Linked DNA regions of Homo sapiens: region 2 is linked to region 1. The links are contacts of gene promoters, found by promoter capture Hi-C in human tissues and cell types (Jung and others, 2019). All regions are on one chromosome and are shown on one strand. The core of a region is centred on a gene start or on the middle of the fragment in contact, and the rest is flanking DNA. Distances in the headings are between cores, read along the strand shown. Region 1 holds the start of PLEKHD1 (pleckstrin homology and coiled-coil domain containing D1). Region 2 overlaps DCAF5 (DDB1 and CUL4 associated factor 5).

Region 1 (4,042 bases), core at 1,006-3,505:
ACTCTGATTGCATCGTTTCGGGTGGCTTTGGGGGCCACGGTAGTGGATGGAGGAGAAGATGGAGTCTCTGGGTGGGGGACACTAAACCTCTCCAAGCCTCCTTGGCACTACCATTGTGCTTTTAGCTGGGGGCCTATGCCCTGTACTCCTGACACTTCCTAGCCCTGGAATCAACTGTAGGTGCAGAGACCAGTTTCCCAATGTACCTGCAGTGGTGAAGGGGAGGACCAGGGGACATACCCTGGGGGTCACAAGCACCTAGCATTTTCTAGGGATGCTGTCAGGTGAAAATGTCTGGCAAGAGAAGTCTTGGTTGACAGGACCCAGAACAGCAGCCAGACCCAATAGAAAAGAAAGATTAACTATCTGGAGCTGCTGAGGCAGAAGAAAGATGGGTGGTGGGGGGAGATATTCTGCTAATTGTGCTTGAATCTACACACAGCCTTTCCACCCCAGCTCTCCTGGCCCTGGGGGCTGTAGCTCACATAGCACAATACTGGAAGCTCCCCAAATACACTCCATGTTGCTCCAAGCCTTCATTTAGGGGGTCAGAGATAAGCTGAACTTTGGAGGAACTCAAGAAGCCTGTATCCCATTAAATCCCAGAGAGAAACCTGTCAGAAGCAACAAAACAACATGAAACCAGAGATATAAAATGTGAGCTACTGTCCACAGCTCCATTTGTTCTGCGGTCTTATAGAAACATTAAATTATTCATCAGAACAGAACATCAGCACCCACCACTACCACATCCACATGATCTGTGGTCCTGGGAACATTGGAGGCCCCCTCTGCTCAGGGGCAGACTCATAGAGTGTGGGATGGGGAAGGGGCATCTGGATACCCCTGGTTTCCTGGAAGGGTCACACCTCCGCGGAAGGGCTGGACAGGGTCTGCATTCTCCAGGCCATACCAGTAGTGAATCTCAGAACTGAAATTGACTGGAGAGTGGAAACTGTCCAGAAAATGGCCCACAGCACCTGCAGCCAGTTGGGAGCTTCCTGCAAGTCCAGGGCTGTGAACTCCCTCTTCCCTCAATACCTCCCAGGCTAATTTGTAAGTGGAGAGTGGCTACCGATGTCCGCGGAGTCGCGTCTGAGTTGGGGACCAGGCAGCTGGGGCTGAAGGATGGTTGGGACTACCCTGTCTCTCTCCACCACCCCTTTCAGAGGATCAATCCTTGGCAGAACCAATCTATCCCCTCCTTCACTCCAGCTGCCTCCCTCCTTTCCAGCTCCTCCGTCTGAAGCACTAGAATCTCTCTTCCCTGTGCTCACTTTTAAAAAAATTATTTCAAGGGACAGTTGGAGGGGTTGCCAAGGTCACTTCCCCATGGACAAGCACCCTTCCTGGCCCTTCCTCCCTCCTTAGCCTGAGCCTTTCAGAAGGGCCAGGTCCCTCTCCGTCTTAAGGGTGGGTGGTTGGCGGGAGGGAGACACTCAGGCCCGGTCCTCGCGGCCTGGGTCAGGGGTTGTGAAGACGATGGAATTGACAGTGGGGGTCCCGGGGTTGGGGGCATCTTTGGCTAGAGATGGAGTTTCTGCCTCCCCTCAGTCTGGCCTGATCTGACCTAGCTGGGATCCCACCCCGACCACGGTCTCTTCTGCCCACACCCAACATTCCCACTCGAGGGTCAGGTTCATTCCATAGAGAATTTGCCACCGCCCCAGGGCAGGGGCCCCATCTCCATTCTCCCGGCCCAGACTATGGTCCACATTTTCCTGCGGGAGCCAGTGTAGAGTGAAAAGGGGTGACGCCAAGGTCACACAGGAAAGCAGAGGCACGACGGCGACTGGAGGGGGTGGGAGGGGTAACGACGCCCAGGCTCTCTCCCCGGCGGTCTCCTTGGGGCGCGGGGGCGCACTCACCGCCGGGACCACTTGGCCGACGGCCTGCCGAAAGGCCTCTTCCACAGCACGCCGTAGAGCTGCACTTTGGTGCTGATATCCAGGGCGTCCGAGTCAGCCTGCTCCAGGGACGGCGAGGGCGACACCGAGTTGGACTTGGACGTGAACATCCTGCCTCAGCGGGGCTGTGCCCGGCCCGGACCCCACCTCCCCGGGGTCAGCAGGGACTCGGGGCGAGAGGCGAGGGCGGAGCCGTCGGAGAGCGTCCCAGCGAGCAGAGAAGCAGAGCGGCCCGGCCCGGAGCTGCAGCATCAAAGCGCGCTGGGCACTGGACGCGGCACCAAGGGGGCGCAGGGCGCGTAGCCGGCGGCTTGGGCTCCGGATTGCAGAGGGCCGGGCGGGAACTCCGCGGGGAGGGTGGCTCAGCCTCGGGCCGGCAGCATCTCCTCCCCTCCCGCCCTAGCCACCCACCCCCCCGGCGACAGCCCCAATTCTGGTGGCCCCGATTGGCTGGGAGTGGCAGGTGAGCCGGCGGGAGGCCGGCCTCGGGCGCCAATCAGGGCGGGCGCCGGCTGGAGGGCCGGGCTCCGTGCGTCCAGAAGGTCCCTGCGGGTCGCAGGGCCCGGGGACTTGGCCGCAGCGCGTCCCCGTCCCCGCCCCGCGCGCCCAACACCACCCCGGGGTCCCTCTCGGCGAGCAGCGCCGACATCGAGACGAGGGCCACGTCCGCTTTGCAATGGGGTTGGAGGCACTCCTGCAGACACCTGCTCGCCTCGGGGTGGAGGAGAGGACGGAGCTAGGGCGTAGGGTCACACACTCCGGCCTGGAATTCCACCGCAATTCCTACCGCTCCGTGAACTGCGGCGGTCTGGCTTTTCTCCCCAGTGAAGTGGCGATGCCTGATGCCCCGGGCAGGCGGGTGGCCAGGTAGGACTTCAGGAAGTGCCCAAAGTGCCCGCATGGGGAGGGGCTCCATCAAGATTGGGTTCCCCCCAACCCTTCCCCCTCAGGTGGGTTTCACTGTGCTCCGCCGCCGCCGCCTAGCGCGCATCGGATCGGATTTCTCTTCCTGGAACCTGACCGTGTCTGTGTCGGCATTTGGCACTCAACGCCAGTCTGGAGCTATCCGTGCAGTGTGTGTCCGTGATTTATCTGCGCGCCTGGCCCGCGCTCCCTGGGACCAGCTGTTCCATCCGCTTCCGCTCCTTTCGGAGTTGGCGTTTGGGGTGACCGGCTCATTTTCAGGCCAGGGAGATGCCGGCCGGGCCCCAGGGGACCGCCTCCTCCCGGCAGGTGGAAATGCTAGGCTGGCACAGCTGCCTGCCCCGCGCCACCTGCCAGGCGTGGAGACCGCGCAGTGAGCGGCCGCCCGCCAGACCACGCCGCAGTCGCGCTTTTCCAAGATGAGGAGCCAAGGACGCCTCTGGAAGTCGGATTGCAACAGAAGTTTACAAATGGTTAGCCCGAGAGCCAGATCCACATTGCTTTATGAATTTGCCCCAAGTTTTTAAATTGAGGTATACTTCATGGTAAAATGCACACATCTAAGTTATTTCTTTGATGAAGGTATATAAGATGTAACCCCACCCAAAGCAACAGACAGAACATTTCCATCACCTGCAGAAAGTTTCTTCATGCCCCTTTATAGTCAATCAGCCCCCCAACAACAACCACTTGTATCATTCTTACCACCTCTGCACAGTAGACTTAAGTCTTTGAATGTAATGCCTAAAGGCGCATCCCCACAGGCCCCATCATCCCCTATTGTCTGACCTGCCTGGCCCCTCTGCAGGCATTTGGATGTGTGACGCCCACTAGATGTTCCCCAAGGCCATGCTAGATCTCCCCATTTTATGACTCTAGCTAATCATCACCCTGGTACTCTTCCCTTAACCCCCTCTGGGGTTCCCAAGCTCAGACAGCATCCCCTTGTTGCTCACTGTCAAGAAGTGCCCATCTGAATTCCTTGCACTTCTCTCATGGCTCAGGCCCCCATGCAGAACATCTCAGGCCAAGCCTTAACACAGGGCCCGGGGCTTGGCTCCATCAGGTGGGAGGAGGTGGGACTGGGAAGATGATGAGAGCCCGGGGCCAGAGTACAAAGTGGACATTTTCTGTATATTTTTTGTCTATTTCTGACACATGGTCTAATGCTTGGAAATCTTCCCACTTTAGGAGCCCTGCTTTTCTTTTCT
Region 2 (3,925 bases), core at 1,282-3,781, 370 kb after region 1:
CTTGAAAGCCTCTCATACTCATCCGTTAGTTTGGCCTGGATTTTTGCAATGGCCTTCTGTGATTTCTGTTACCACTCTCTAATTCTCCTTTGAATTCATTGCATACACAAGTTTACTTTTAAAAATAAAGACTGGACCATGTGAACCATTGAGCCTACAGTGCCTGAAGAATGAAGTCTAAATCCCAATCTATCTGTCTGGCCTGACCTCCCTTCCCTGAGTTATACACTGTAGCCCACCAAACTATTTGTCATTTTAAGAATGCACTGCATGGTACTATTTTGCCCTTGTGCCTTTTGTTCATGGTGTTCTTCCACCTTAATTGTCCAGTCCCCACCAATTCCCCTAAGCCTTTCATTGGTAAGAGTTTTGAGTTATTTGAGTTTCTCTTCAAAGGTCTCCTTCTCCATGTACTTTCACCCTGCTTATGAAGGAAATAATTGACCCCATAGCTAGATCATATTGCTGCAAGGCAAACCCTCTTGTTGCTGTTAGTTGTTTGTCCAGTTGGACTGTTCTCAAGTCCAATTGGAGTTCTCAAGGACAGAGTAGAATCTTATTCTTTTTATATACCCAAGACCTAGCACTGTACCTGATACCTAGAAGGCATTAGTATGGGTTTACTGATTTCATTGGTTTGTACCTACAGTAGAATTTACAGCCAGGCCTTTGTTTAAGATGCCCTGGGCCATATCTTTACTGCTACTTTTGCTTTCTATTTAAGTGACTGTTGGTTGTGCATTTTAGCATAGAGTGGGACTTTTTTCATGTTTTGTCTTCTTATATTCAGGTTTTAATTTTTTTGCTATACAAACCATTTGAAGGCAGGACTACACATATCATGAATATAATTTATATCCTTTGATAGAATAAGGAGAAATACAAGATTAAAACTTTCACATCATTTGGAATCACAGTCATCAAATTTTCATGCTATAAAAGATGATGAGGCTGGGCATGGTGGCTCACACTTGTAATAATCCCAACACTTTGAGAGGCCAAGGCAGGAGGATTGCTTGAGCCCAGGAGTTTGAGACCAGCCTGGGCAACATAGTTAGACCCCAACATGTTAGATCTCTACAAAAAAAATTTTTTTTTTAATTAGCCAGGCATAGTGACACATGCCTGTAGTTCCAGCTACTAGAGAGGCAGAGGTGGGAAGATTGCTTGAGCACAGGAGGTCAAGACTGTAGTGAACCATGATTGCACCACTGCACTCCAGCCTGGACAACAGAGCAGGATCCTGTCTCGAAAGAAAGAAGAAAAATTTTTAAAAGACAAACAGAGCAAGATCCTGTCTCAAAAGAAAGAAAGAAAGAAACATTTTTAAAAGACCATGAGGATAGAAATATTAACAAACATTTATTGGGGGCTTATTAAGTGATCAGCCCTATTCTGAATGCTTTTACAGATGTACTCTTATGCTTACAGTTACTCTATGATGTTATTATCCCTATTCTGTAGGTTAAAAAGTTAGGTCATAGAAATGCTAAAGATTTTATTGCAGGTCTCATGATTAGTGAGTGTTCTGCTGAAAAAGAAAAAAAATAAAGCTAGTGAATTGATTTGTCAATGATCATTTAGTGTTTTTCTTGATGGCCACAGTTTTGTTTTGTGTTGTTTCCCCCCTACTTTTTTTTTTTTTTTGAGACAGTCTCTCTCTGTTGCCCAGGCTGGAGTGCGATCGTAGCTCACTGCAGCCTTGAACTCCTGACCTCAAGCGATTCTTCCACCTCAGCCTCCTTAGTAGCTGGGACTTCAAGGGTGTGCCACCAGTTGGCTAATTTTTTTATTTTTATTTTCATAGAGATGGAGTCTAACTATGTTGCCCAGGTTGTAGCCACAGTTGTTTTTTTTTTTTACATCATCCACTGGATAATACACATTGGGAACTGTTACTGTGTTATACTTGGATGCCATTATTTTTTAAAAATTCTCTGTAAGAATGTCCTATCCTTCTTAAATTATTTCTATAAATCTTTTTTCCAGTTAACACTTCTAATTTGTATTAGCATTGGCTTTGTTCATATTTTTTCCCTGAAAACTTAAAAATACTAAATTGTAATGTGGACAGGGACCACCTTGCACGAATGATCAGATGTCTGCTTTTTTCTTTTGCAGGCAATGATGAGCAAGTTATCCTCCATGATGTTGAAAGGTAAATAGATTGGTGGTGTGTGAAGGTGATTGACTTTGTTTTTCATATATGAAGAGGCAAATATCTCTTTAGACTAAAATAGTTTTTGTTTTTTGAAAAAAACAACATGAAACCAGCTGTTCTTTTCTAAAAAAATTCCTACAATAGTTTGAAATAAATAAAGTTTTGATTTAAAAAGGAAAAAGGGATTTGAAAGTTTTGAAAGTTGGTATGAGAGTGTACTTTTTAGGTGAAAATTTAAAACAAGAGTTTAGAAGAGAAGGAACCATAATATTTAAGAACAGTAATAGCTAATATTGATTGAGTTCTTACTATGTGCCAGACACCATTGTAAATGCTTTGTACATATTCATTCATTTAATCCTCACACTCATTTTCTGAGGAGATACTATTGTCATCTCCGTTCTAGATCAGGAAACGGAGTCACAGACATGTTAGATAACAGAAGGTCAGGTGGTACTAAAACCTGAACTTAGGCTATCTGGCCTCAGAGCCATGCTCTTCATCACCATGCCAGATTGCTAGGAGACCCCTCTCCCATCCTGTAGGCATCAGACTTGGCTGCTTTAAAGCTTTCCCTTGCTTTTTGAAAATCAAGTATGACCCCCAAATCTGTACACAAGCAGATGCATTCTGTAATAAATGAAAATACAAAACTCAGCTATTGAGTCACTTTTAAATATGCTTATTTAGCACAAAAATTATAAAATCTCTAAAAAGACTCCTTAATAGTACCTTTTTTTTAACCTGAAAGTTGACTACCTACCTTTCAGGAAATATAATATTTTTTGGGTTTAGCTAGGTTGACTTTCTTCTAGAAATGGAAAAGATGGCACCCTCGGTACCAAAGTGCTGGGACTCTGCACTATGCTTGTGTGTATGTGTGTGCCTCTGTCTTGCTCTCTTATCTCCCAGCAGTGAGACATTGGACGTGTTTGCTCATGAAGATGCAGTATATGGCTTGTCTGTGAGCCCAGTGAATGACAACATTTTTGCCAGTTCCTCAGATGATGGCCGGGTTCTCATTTGGGACATTCGGGAATCCCCCCATGGAGGTAGGCTCACTGTGCAAATGACTGTTGGACTGTGTTGAACAGTTTGATGTCAGATTCATTGAAGATCCAATTTATTACCTCAGTATCTATGTGCAAGTGATGTCAAGGGAAAGGAAATGTGAAACACTCACATGGGGGCATAAGAGGTCTTTGGAGGCCTTATCCTCCACCTAAATACTCAGGAGTGAGGCACCTTTGCCAGTCCTTCTCCACCCTCCTGTGACTCTCCACAAACCCTTGTACTTTGGTGTTTAGTGCCCCAAGGAGCAGAAGTTGTGGTGCTGACATGTAACTATTCTTGATTATTTACAGAGAATGGGGGCGTTATGCACTTTCCTGCATCCTAGTTTCAGGCTTGTTATTTTGTTGAAAGAACCACCGAATCTCAAATTACCTGTGTATAGGATCTTAAAATGATGGCAAATAAACTCTGTTTAAAGGGGATTGTCGTGTGAGTGCCTCCTCTGAATGTGCCCTTTGACTCTCTGATGTGTGAAATGAAGAAGTTGCTTTGTTGACTTTCTCTGAAGTTCTTCAGGAAATGCATCTTCTCAGCTCATTTCCTACAGAGAGATTTCTGTAATTCTACCTGTCTTCAAAAGGCCCCTTCCTCTAGTACCAGCCTTAGTGCCACTGCCATACCCACCGTGGCCTTTAGTGCAGATTGTAATGATCACAGCTGTGTACCTAAATTTACTATCCTGCCTGCTCT

Evidence for each region. Contacts are between HindIII fragments. The study calls those that stand out against the background at their distance.
Region 2: a fragment that was not itself captured here is called in contact with the fragment with the promoter of PLEKHD1 in region 1 in 1 of the 25 tissues and cell types used here (lymphoblastoid cells).

The regions. Positions count from the first base shown.
Region 1 is chr14:69,482,941-69,486,982 of GRCh38, reverse strand. It overlaps PLEKHD1 (pleckstrin homology and coiled-coil domain containing D1), which reads right to left and starts at 2,255. Exons shown (of 13, transcript NM_001161498.2): 1 at 1,869-2,255. The coding sequence starts at 2,017. The HindIII fragment of the contact is 9,868 bases long and covers 1-4,042 here.
Region 2 is chr14:69,117,427-69,121,351 of GRCh38, reverse strand. DCAF5 (DDB1 and CUL4 associated factor 5) reads left to right here. Exons shown (of 9, transcript NM_003861.3): 3 at 2,122-2,158; 4 at 3,074-3,213. Among named protein-coding and RNA genes, the nearest start is that of DCAF5, 34 kb to the left of the region's middle. The HindIII fragment of the contact is 7,416 bases long and covers 1-3,925 here.